Regions from separate parts of the Homo sapiens genome. Here regions 1, 3 and 4 are each linked to region 2. The links are contacts of gene promoters, found by promoter capture Hi-C in human tissues and cell types (Jung and others, 2019). All regions are on one chromosome and are shown on one strand. The core of a region is centred on a gene start or on the middle of the fragment in contact, and the rest is flanking DNA. Distances in the headings are between cores, read along the strand shown. Region 1 overlaps TCN2 (transcobalamin 2). Region 2 holds the start of PATZ1 (POZ/BTB and AT hook containing zinc finger 1). Region 3 holds the start of MTFP1 (mitochondrial fission process 1). Region 4 holds the start of OSBP2 (oxysterol binding protein 2).

Evidence for each region. Contacts are between HindIII fragments. The study calls those that stand out against the background at their distance.
Region 1: a fragment that was not itself captured here is called in contact with the fragment with the promoter of PATZ1 in region 2 in 1 of the 25 tissues and cell types used here (aorta).
Region 3: a contact is called between the fragment with the promoter of MTFP1 here and the fragment with the promoter of PATZ1 in region 2, in 1 of the 25 tissues and cell types used here (H1 embryonic stem cells).
Region 4: a contact is called between the fragment with the promoter of OSBP2 here and the fragment with the promoter of PATZ1 in region 2, in 1 of the 25 tissues and cell types used here (dorsolateral prefrontal cortex).

The regions. Positions count from the first base shown.
Region 1 is chr22:30,620,415-30,623,114 of GRCh38, forward strand. TCN2 (transcobalamin 2) reads left to right here. Exons shown (of 9, transcript NM_000355.4): 8 at 2,554-2,669. Among named protein-coding and RNA genes, the nearest start is that of SLC35E4, 14 kb to the right of the region's middle. The HindIII fragment of the contact is 9,250 bases long and covers 1-2,700 here.
Region 2 is chr22:31,345,040-31,347,739 of GRCh38, forward strand. PATZ1 (POZ/BTB and AT hook containing zinc finger 1) reads right to left here and starts at 1,307. Exons shown (of 5, transcript NM_014323.3): 1 at 1-1,307. The coding sequence starts at 563. It overlaps LINC01521 (long intergenic non-protein coding RNA 1521), which reads left to right and starts at 1,720. Exons shown (of 1, transcript NR_120386.1): 1 at 1,720-2,700. RefSeq lists silencers at 63-132, 683-1,102, 1,473-1,542, 1,593-1,812. The HindIII fragment of the contact is 10,371 bases long and covers 1-2,700 here.
Region 3 is chr22:30,424,499-30,427,198 of GRCh38, forward strand. It overlaps MTFP1 (mitochondrial fission process 1), which reads left to right and starts at 1,270. Exons shown (of 4, transcript NM_016498.5): 1 at 1,270-1,448; 2 at 2,219-2,346; 3 at 2,673-2,700. The coding sequence starts at 1,382. SEC14L2 (SEC14 like lipid binding 2) reads left to right here. Exons shown (of 12, transcript NM_012429.5): 12 at 1-805. RefSeq lists enhancers at 1,530-2,088, 2,089-2,649. The HindIII fragment of the contact is 6,033 bases long and covers 1-2,282 here.
Region 4 is chr22:30,693,610-30,696,309 of GRCh38, forward strand. OSBP2 (oxysterol binding protein 2) reads left to right here and starts at 1,265. Exons shown (of 14, transcript NM_030758.4): 1 at 1,265-1,944. The coding sequence starts at 1,301. RefSeq lists silencers at 938-1,017, 1,402-1,451. The HindIII fragment of the contact is 4,458 bases long and covers 1-2,700 here.

The DNA of each region.
Region 1 (2,700 bases), core at 43-2,542, 720 kb before region 2:
GGCCTGCACTTTAGCACCTCCCTGTATTCAAGCTGCAGTGAAGCCTGGGCACTCCTGGCCTGGCTCAGCCACTTCATTCACTATGAGGGCCACCTCCGTTTCCTTCCTGTGGCCTATGGCACATAACGCAATGCTGCTGGGCACCAGCGCAGTCACTGATGGCCACGCATAGGCTGAGTGCCCTTGGGAGGGCTCAGACCCACAGACTGAGATTACCCAGAACCAGCTGGTATTCATGTTTGAATATTGTCATCAAAATGAAAGACAATTAGAATTTAACGTTTTTATTCAGAGCTCGGGGATCTCTGGGAAGACACTGTGGACTCCAGTCTGAGAAATGGTTCTCTTGTTAGTGTGCATGGATGCCTCAACTGGGTTCAGGCATGAAGACTATGTTTGAGGCCCCTGAATGCACAGCAGAGAAAGCTCAACTGCAGACACAGATAGACAGATGTGGAGAGAGGTAGCCCTGTGCAGCCACATGGCCCTGCAGAGTTAAGGAATGGGAAAAGGGCTACTCTGTGACATTCCTTAGAACAGTAGTTTCCCTTCGCTAAAGTCACCCCAAATAGGGTGGTGGTTGTTGTTGTTGTTTTGAGACGGAGTTGCATTCAGTCGCCCAGGCTGGAGTGCAGTGGCACGATCTCGGCTCACTGCAACCTCCACCTCCTGGGTTCAAGCGATTCTCCTGCCTCAGCCTCCTGAGCAGCTGGGATTACAGGGGCCCACCATCACACCTGGCTAGTTTTTGTATTTTTAGTAGAAATAGGGTTTCACCATGTGAGCCAGGCTGGTGTCAAACTCCCAACCTCAGGTGATCCACCCACCTCCGCCTCCTCAAGTGCTGGGATTACAGATGTGACCCACCGCGCCCCACCTGTGTTTCTTAAAACCAAAAAAATCCCTCTAAGACTGCAACCATCGATAACTTAGGGCTGTATTACCCCAGAGAGCACTTTGTAGAAGATGCGTTTGTTCACATCACTTCCCTGTTACTTTGACGGTCTCACCTCCTTTTCAGTCATTTGCATTCTCCCAGAACCTGCTCATTTGTTGTTTTTTGTTTGTTTGCTTGGTTTTGTTTTTGAGAAGCAGTCTTGCTCTGTTACCCAGGCTGGAGTGCAGTGGTGCGACCTCAGGTCACTGCAACCTCCGCCTACTAGGTTCAAGTGATTCTCCTGCCTCAGTCTCCTGAATAGCTGGGATTACAGGTGTGCACCACCATGCCCAGCCTAATTTTTGTATTATTAGTAGAGATGGGGTTTCACCATGTTGTCCAGGCTGGTCATGAACTCCTGACCTCAAGTGATCCACCCGCTTTGGCCTCCCAAAGTGCTGGGATTACAAGCATGAGCCACAGTGCCTGGCCTGACCCTGCTCTTTTGAAAGACCATTCCCCCAAATTCTGTGCACCTGTGTGCCTTTCTTCTCTCTGCCTCCTCTCAGCTCTGCCCCGCTCTCCTCCCTTCTCCTCTGGCAAATCCCACTCATCTCTTGAAGCCCTTCTTCCAGGGGAAGCCCTGATCATGCTGCTTTCTCCTGTGGGAGGGATGAAGGACGTGGCCCACGGAGTTTGTTTTGTTTTGTTTTGAGATGGAGTTTTGCTCATGTTGCCCAGGCTGGGGTACAATGGTACGATCTCAGCTCACTGCAACCTCTACGTCCCGGGTTCAAGCGGTTCTCCTGCCTTAGCCTCCCCAGTAGCTGGGATTACTGGCATGAACCACCACACCTGGCTAATTTTGTGTTTTTAGTAGAGATGGGGTTTCTTCATGTTGGTCAGGCTGGTCTCGAACTCCCAACCTCAGGTGATCTGCCTGCCTTGGCCTCCCAAAGTACTGGGATTACAGGGTTGAGCCACTGTGCCTGGCCCAGGCCCACGGAGTTTTAAGAGGCTTCCTGTGGCAGTGGCATCCAGACGGAGTGCAGAAACTCAAAGTTGAAGGCCAGAAGCTCAGGGAAGGGGGAGTGTGAGTTGAGGAGTCTCTTGGCTGCCAGGGCCAGAAACCGAACTCCAAGCCTCTCCACAACAGCGGGTGTAGAGCATGTAGAATCAGAGAGGAGGCTGAGCCATGCAGCCCCGAGAAGAGGGGAATGCCACTGAGCCACAGAGACCCAGTGCCACTGCCAGGTGTCTCTGCCTCCACTTCCCATGACCCTGCCTGTCTCTGTATGCAGGCTTCACCCTCTCTCGTTGTACATTGTACACATTCTAGGTGACACCAGCAGCTTCTGATTCTCATCCCCCATAACATCAGCCCCCCAGAGAGGGGACAACTGCTGAGCTGATAACATAATAGATGCCCCTTTCCTGGAGGCCATGGTCATGGTCAGCGTGGAGAGGATGAAGCCTGAGCAGGCAGGATCGGGGGTCTGGAGGGGAAGGAGGTGGAAGTTGAGATCACAGACCTGTGGCCAGGTGGCCTGGGAAGGGTTTGACGAGTGTCGGCCCAAAGAGCTTGGAAGGGATTTTGCTGCTGTGGGTGAGCACTGCCTCTCCCCTTAGGGACAACAGCCACCTCTTCTCTCCCCATTTGCCTTTCCCTTCTGTAGATATGAAACACAGGCCTCCTTGTCAGGCCCCTACTTAACCTCCGTGATGGGGAAAGCGGCCGGAGAAAGGGAGTTCTGGCAGCTTCTCCGAGACCCCAACACCCCACTGTTGCAAGGTGAGTCATGGCCTGACACTCTGGATGTGTC
Region 2 (2,700 bases), core at 57-2,556:
TCCAAAGGGAAGCCCAAGTCCGAGGTCCCAGGGGGGCGAAAGAGCATTATATCGGCGCGGGCAGGGGGTACCAGGATCTGTACGTTGGACTGTTTGATGACTTCCTGGCAGATCTCGATAACCGACCTCATCAGCAGGAACTTGGCGGCCGTCATGAGTTCGGGAAAGCTCTCCAAGCGCACCACGATGCGGGAAGTGTAGGCGAAGTCCAGAATGTCCCCAAATACCTTGGAGCTGATAGTGTGCATCTCCAGCTCCCGGCTGCCCCCGGCCCCGCCGCCTGGTGCTGCCGTCGCGCCCCCTACATCAGCCGGACCCCCGTCCGCAGCTCCGCCGTCGCCCAACTGGGCGCTGAACACCGACTCAAAGTACTCGCTGCAGGCGGCCAGCACGGCGCGGTGCGCTGGGAAGCTCTCGTCGCCTACCCGCAAGAGCACGTCGCAGAAGCGCCCGCCGTTTTTGCGCTGCTGGTTCAGGTTGTGCAGCATCTCCGTGCTGTGTCTGCTCACCTGGTATGTGTAGCAGCCAGACGGGCCGCACGAAGCGTCGTTCACCCGCTCCATGGCCGCCGCCCCCTCCCACTAGCCCGGCCGCTGCACCTGCCCGCCCCCTCCCTTCCCCTCAGCAGCGAGAAGCGGGGCGCAGCAGACGTGTCCACACTCCCCACACGTGCCGGCCCGAGGCTCTGTAGTCTCGCAGGTGCGCCGAGTGTACACGCCCCCAGCCCGGATCAGACTGTCTAGACTGCGGGGTGCACCACCCCCCACATAGCCAACCCCCGCCCTCGCTGGACTGCGCGCCACTCTCTCCTCTCCGCCCGCCCGCCTCCCCTTCCCGGTCTACCTTCCGGGGGGGTGCGCGAGCGAAGAGGTGCGCCCCTCCTGCAAACGCGCCTGCCACCTCCCCTCCCGCCCGCCAGGCGGCGCCGGCGCGCAGCCAAGAAGGGCACGCGCACGCGGGGAGGAGAAGGAGGGGTCCGCCGCGCAGGCGCGCGCGCGCGCCGCGGCTTTTCCCGGGCCCGCTGGGGGCGCGCGCTGCGTCCCCTGCAAAGCGCGAGCCGGGGCGGGGGCGCCGGAGCGGAGGAAACAAAAGGCGAAGGCGAAGGCGGCGGCGGCGGGGCGCGCACGGGGGCGGTGGCGCGGGCCGGGTCCCGGAGCCTGGAGGGCGGTGGCGGCGGCGGCGGCGGCTGGAGCGGGCGGGCGGCGGCGGCGGCAGAGTAGGCCCTTCCTCAGGCCGGGAGAAGGCGGCGGCGGAGCGGCGGCTGTGCGGCCCCGGGCTCCGTGTGTTCGGAGCGGAGGAAAGATGGCAGCGGCTGCACTTCCTCTTGCACTTTCACCCCTGGGGGGAGGAGAAGGAGGGGGCGATACCAACAACACCCCCCCTCTCGCTTGCAGAAAAAAAAGAAACGGCGAGCTCAGAGTGGGGGCCCCGGCGTCCCCGGCCTTGCACGTGCGCGCCCGGATGCCTAGCCCGGGCCGCCTGGCGCTGCAAACTTTACACTTTCTTTGTGCCGAGCGCCCCCCCCTCACCAAGACGAGGATGCACGTCCCCCCTTCCCTATTTATACACCCCCCCCCCGCAGTCCGCTCCCCCCGCTTCCTGCCCCCCCTCCCCATTCCCCAGATCCGCCAATGCTAGAGCAGCCTGAGCCCCCGTCCGGCCCCCGCCTCCCCACCCCGCCCGCGGGGCCGGGGGCTGCAGTCTCAGCCCCCCCGGACCAATGCAAACGAAGCGCCGAGCCAGCAAACCAGCTCCCACTGCCCCTCCCCTGCCCGCTGAGAGTGGCGGCTAGCAGGGTGGGGGGGCAGGAACTGAGGGGTGCGGATCCGGGCCCCCCAGCCTGCGAAGCGCACTCGCAGGTCGAGCGGGCGTCGTCCACCCTTCGGAGCCCCGCTTTCATGCGTGAAATTCCCAGAAGTCGCCTGCGACCGCCTCCCTGCTTCAAACACCAGAGAGGGCCCGGGGTCCTGGCCGGAGACAGGCCGAACCTCCGGAGCTGCTTCTGCACCCGGTACATTGATCGATCTGATGGGCTGCGCGCCCGGAAGAGCTGGAGAGATGAAGCCAGCGTCCAGCTTCTCCCCCAAACCACAGCACGCCGAGCTTTGTCCCCGGGGAGCGTGAAGTCACCAGCTCCGGGAGGCGACAATATGAGGGCGATGGACGGGGCAGGGACCCCCGGAAGCCCCAGCAATCCTCAGGGAAGTGGGGGTGCCGGAGGAGTCGGGGACACCCTCAGGCCTCTCCAAGCCCGGAGCATCCCCAGCGCCCGCAGCCCTGTGAGACGCCGGGTGCTCTGGTAATGGGCCCTGCCGCCAGGCCTCGGCGCTTTGTCCCCGGCCCGCCCGGGGATGCTACCACGCTAGAGTTGTACACCAAGGTTTGTCTTCCCAGGAAGCGCTGGCGGCTGCCTTTGGGCCGCCTGGCGCGGAGCCCCAGGCTGCAGGCGCCGCGTGTGCGGGCGGGAAGTTCCCACAGTTGCAAAGAGGCAGCGAAGTATGTGTTCCAAACTTTCCACGGTTCCAAACTGAGCGCTTCCATTAAGAGAAGCGGTGTGCGGGGGAAAAGCATTCTGGGTATTAGCATGCAAATGAACGGGCCCGGCTTCCAACTCCGCTCGGGATTCCCACCGCTGCGCGCCGAGCTCGCGCCCAGCCACGCGCGCCCTGAGGCTTCCGGGCGTTGCCCTGGCGGATGATC
Region 3 (2,700 bases), core at 20-2,519, 920 kb before region 2:
AATAAGAGCTAATTCTTAATAAGGCCTACCGGGTATCACGCAAAAACCCTGTGCTTACTATTACACTTTGGGTTGTTGCAAAGATTAAAGGAAATAAGCCGTGCAAAGCGCTTAAGAGCTTGGTATAAGTAAGTGCTCGTCAATGTTGGCTACTCTCATTTTTTTTGCAGACGTGGGAACTGGGGCTCAGGGAGGCTAACAGCCAGTAGGCGGCACAGCTAGGATTTGAACCCAGGATTGTCTCCAACGCCGCTCAATTATACCCGCCAAGGAGTCACAGAGACTTAGTGAAGTGCACACATTGCTCACCTGGGTGAACTGAGGTCCAGCGGGGGAAGGCTTCCTCCTGTTGTAATCACTAACCCCAACTCTGTCTCCCTTGCCCGATTCATTCATTCGTTAATTAATTCATCCAACATCCTGTCCCCAAGAAGCTCAGTCTGGGGACATACTGATCCAGTTAAATGCGAGTGCTTCCTAGTTATACATGGCGACTGCTGAGAAGGGACTCCAGAGTCCAGGCACCTACCTCCCAGGGGCTCACCGTTCACTCCTCTAGCCTCATTTAGAGCTCGCATTAAGAGCACGGGATCTGGATCCACACTGTTTGGATTCAAATCACAACTTCACCACTTAGCAGCTGTGTGTTCTGGGAAAATGACCCACCTTCTCTGTGCCTCCATTTTCTCACCTGTAAAACGGGCTCCCAGGCTGGTGGGAGGGTTTCAGGTGTAAGACATGGAGAGTCCTTTAGCGAACATGTAGACTGGCAATAAACTCAATAAATGGTGACTGTTATAATTAATCCTCGGAACCATCCTAGGGAGTGGACACTATTGTGTTCCCCATTTTATTTATTACATTAATTTTTTTTTTTTTTTTTTAGTAGAGACGAGGTCTCGCTATGTTGTCCAGGCTGTTCTCGAACCCTTGGGCTCAAGAGATCTTCCCGCCTCCGGCCTCCCAAAGTGCTGGGATCACAGGCGTGAGCCAACGGGCCCAGCCTGTGTCCCTCCCTCGTTTTTACAAATGAATAAAGAGATGCTGGATAAGCCCGAGGTCACAAGCTTTGCAGTGTAGCATCCCCCAACTTGATCCCCTGTCTCTTTGGCTCCAAAACCTACACTCAGTCCTGGGAGCGATTAGCGCCAACAGCTCAGAGAAAACGTGACGAAAACCAGTCTGTAAAACCCGAGCCTGGGAGAGGGGCTTCGGTGCGCGGGGGGAATTTGCAGACGCTCCCTGCTGGCGGAGATTTCCTGACCTGTCCTTCGGCGCGGGACTTTCGGCGGGTCCCGGCCGGGCAGACCCAAGTGCCGGCGGCGGAGACTGCAGTGGAGCCAGTACCGGCTGTAGTGGCCGGGGCCGTGGCGGGAGAGTCATGTCAGAGCCGCAGCCGCGGGGCGCAGAGCGCGATCTCTACCGGGACACGTGGGTGCGATACCTGGGTGAGCGCGGGGCGACGGGCGCGGCGACCCCACCACCACTGGGCTGGAGAAGCAGGGGTCGCCGGACGCCCGCCCGGGGCCTGGAGGAGGCGGGATGATCTTAGTTCTCATTCTGCTTTTGGGCCGGAGACTGGGCTCAGACAGGGCTAGGGACTTGCCCAAGGTCACACTACCCTGGTGGGTCGCCCAGGGCGGAAGCTCCCATGGGGTGAGCGGGCTGCCCGCTCTGGCATGCGCTCTGGCTGGCTGTGGAGTCGGGATCTCCACTCCCATTTCGGTCCTGACACGCACTGGCTCTGTCTGAACCTCAGTTTCCTCCTCGGCAAAAAAACAAAAACAAAACAAAAAACAAACGAGATACACACGAGGGCCTCTCTCATTGGGTGGTGGTTGCGAGGGTGGAATGGGATAAAGCGCAGAAAGCCCTGGCACTTGGCGAGCGTCTGGTCAGTGGCGCTGCCCTCGATCACTCTGCCCCTCTGGGTGCCTGTCACCTCATTAGTGCAGTTACTCCTGGGACCAAGACCAGGAAATCTAACCAATAAGCAATGGTAACAGTGACTCAGTGCTCAGTCCGCCCTCAGTGGCCCGAGTCCGAGGTGGGCATCATGGCACCAGTTTACATCTCGGAAAGGGAGGCTCAGAGAGGTCAAGTCACTTGCCTAAGGTCACCCAGGGACTGCTTAGCTGGCTAGGATGAGAACCAGCCTGCTCCAACGCCCCCTCGTGGAACAGTTGCGAGCCTAGGAATTAAATGTTCCCTCCCCCAGGCTATGCCAATGAGGTGGGCGAGGCTTTCCGCTCTCTTGTGCCAGCGGCGGTGGTGTGGCTGAGCTATGGCGTGGCCAGCTCCTACGTGCTGGCGGATGCCATTGACAAAGGCAAGAAGGCTGGAGAGGTGAGTGTTAGCCTATTTTCCAACCCCCAACCCTAGCTCTCTTCTTGTGTGGTTCAGTCCACAGCCTTGCATGTGATAAAGTCCCTGTGGGACACTCCAGTCCCTACAACCTTGCCTAGTGCAGTCCATAGACAGTCCTGTTTGTAGGACAGTGTACCCCTGCCCCCACACTCCCACTCCCCGAACTGGATGTGGCAGACTGTACCCCACTCCTGGGTGCGGACAAGTCCACTGGCCACTTGCCCCTCCCGGTCTAGCCTCGTGCCCCTTGTCGCAGGATTTTCTGCCTCTGCCCCAGCTGGATTAAGTGTCTCTGCGCCCACCAGGTGCCCAGCCCTGAAGCAGGCCGCAGCG
Region 4 (2,700 bases), core at 15-2,514, 650 kb before region 2:
TCTGATTATTTGTAGTAACCATCAACTTTCGTCATTTGGATAGATTCTTAAGAAAAAAAAAAAATCACTGATGGCTGGGCACAGTGGCTCACGCCTGTAATCCTAGCACTTTGGGAGGCCGAGGCGGGAGGATCCTGGCCTGAGGTCAGGAGTTCAAGACCAGCCTGACCAACATGGTGAAACCCCGTTTCTACTAAAAATACAAAATTTAGCTGGGCATGGTGCGGGCCGTGGAATTCCAGCTACTAGGGAGGCCAAGGCAGGAGAATCGCTTGAACCTGGGAAGCGGAGGCTGCAGTGAACCAAGATCACGCCACTGCATTCCAGCCTGGGCTACCGAGTGAGACTCAGTCTCAAAAAGGAAAAAAAAAAAAAGCGGAAAAAAAAATTCGCTGATGTTTTAACCATTCTGGGGTCACAGCCTCCTTTGTTATGGACCTACTCTGGAAAAATGCACAGACAGGTAAACCTCTGCGGAAGCCTCACAGACTGCCAGCCTACCCAGGGATCCCGGGAGGTCCAAGTTCAGAATCCCACTTTGAGATGTTTCTTGTACTAAAACGCTTGGTTTACAAAAAGTCTTCCCCTATTTGTTTAGAGAACCCGAACGATGTCGTCACTGGCAGCGAAGCGCCTTGGCATGAACCGTAGGCCAGCTGGCTCAGGAGGTGGAGGCGGTGAGGCGGCCACTTGGGGCCACCGCTTCTGGCGGCCGCAGGAGCGACCCACAGACAGGTAATGGCTGCCATGGGGGGCGGGGCGTCGTCTTTAGCCTTTAGCGCCCCTGTGCTTCGTGCGCATTTCGTGGCCTCTGGGTGCCGTACCTGCTTCCCACCCGGCTTTCCTGGGTGGCGGAGAGCGAACCCACCCCAGCCTGGGTTGGGGGAGGGGGCGTCGGCGCAGGGTCCCGTGGGCAGAGCTGCGCTGGGAGCTGGCGGGCTCCGCATTCATCATTGTTCCTCCAGCGCCTGGCACGGCTGGGCCGAAGCAGAGACCGTGGCCTGAAGCGCGCCATCCCCTTCGGAGTTGACCGACCACCAAGCTCTTCCGCCCACAGGTGTTGTCAGAGCTCCTTCCACCGGCCGGACCTAGGAAGGACCCAGGGTCCAAACATGGCCCGAGGCTGGCCGAGAGCACAACAGCCGGCGGGCGCTGACGGGCACGGAGCGCACGGGACCGCGGAGGAACCCGCGCGCGCCCCCGCCTCGCGCCGCGCGCACGTGACTGCGCCCCCGGCCCCGCCCCCGGCCTGCCCCCCGCCCCCACTGGCCGCTCGGCCGCGCGCGGGTCGGCCGGCTCTATGGGGAAAGCGGCGGCTCCGAGCCGAGGCGGCGGCTGTGGCGGCCGCTCCCGCGGGCTCTCGTCGCTGTTCACGGTTGTCCCCTGCCTGTCGTGCCACACGGCGGCGCCGGGCATGAGCGCTTCCACGTCCGGCTCCGGGCCGGAGCCCAAGCCCCAGCCCCAGCCCGTGCCCGAACCGGAGCGGGGACCGCTGTCAGAACAGGTGTCGGAGGCAGTTTCGGAGGCAGTGCCAAGATCGGAACCTGTGTCCGAGACGACGTCTGAGCCGGAGCCAGGGGCTGGGCAGCCATCGGAACTGCTGCAGGGGTCGCGGCCGGGGTCAGAGTCAAGCTCAGGTGTAGGGGCTGGGCCCTTCACTAAGGCCGCATCGGAGCCGCTCTCCCGGGCGGTGGGGAGCGCGACCTTTCTCAGACCCGAGTCAGGATCGCTGCCAGCGTTAAAGCCCCTGCCTCTTCTGCGACCAGGACAGGCGAAGACTCCTCTTGGGGTTCCAATGTCGGGGACTGGCACGACCTCCAGTGCCCCACTGGCCTTACTGCCTCTGGACAGCTTCGAGGGCTGGCTTCTCAAGTGGACCAACTATCTGAAGGGCTACCAGCGCCGCTGGTTCGTGCTGGGCAATGGTTTGCTCTCTTACTACAGGTATGGAAGCGCCAGGGTGGGACATGGGGGTTGGAGGGTGGTGATGCTGCAGGGATGGTGATGGAGGGCCTCCATGGTTGGCGGACACTGCCACTAGTCTAGAGATGTTTAGGGGCATGCATTCCAGCAGGCCAAGTCACGCTTCTGGCCCGCCGCCAAGGGCCGGGGGCCCTGACCTCTGGCAAGGGTGAATGTGATCTGCGGACATGACCTCTGGCAAGCTTGGGTTTTTGGGCAAGTGGGGAGGTGGAGTAAGGGAGTGATCTGGGGCCTCAGTTCCCTTCTGCTTGGCAGTTGTGGGGCTTGGGGCAGCTAGCTAGAGTCAGCCCCTCAAAGTCCTTGCCCTTTCTGGTTCGGGAGCTAACATCATTGTGTGTTTGGGATTGAGGGAGAGAGTCACCTTGTTCAGTCCTTAGGACCCACACTCTTAGGAAGGGCTGCTTATTCTTCCCGCCTGGGGCAGTTACTCCCACCTTTCCTGATGCCTCTGGTTGCCAGGCCTTGGGCTGGGCACCACAGACTCACAGATGTATTGGACACGGTTCTTGGCCTTCAGGAGTCCATCTTGGCATTTTGCGGAGAGCTAGGAAGTGTTTTGCTGCCCTCCTTTCTTATTCCAGACCCAGCACGGGATTCAAAATTAAAGTCCAGTGGTGAGAGAGCTAACACTGTCTTCCCACTGAAACTGGTTGAAAGGAGGTTACTGAAGCCTCCCTTTGCTTTCTTACTGGCTCTTCCCTGGGTCTGCTTCCTGGG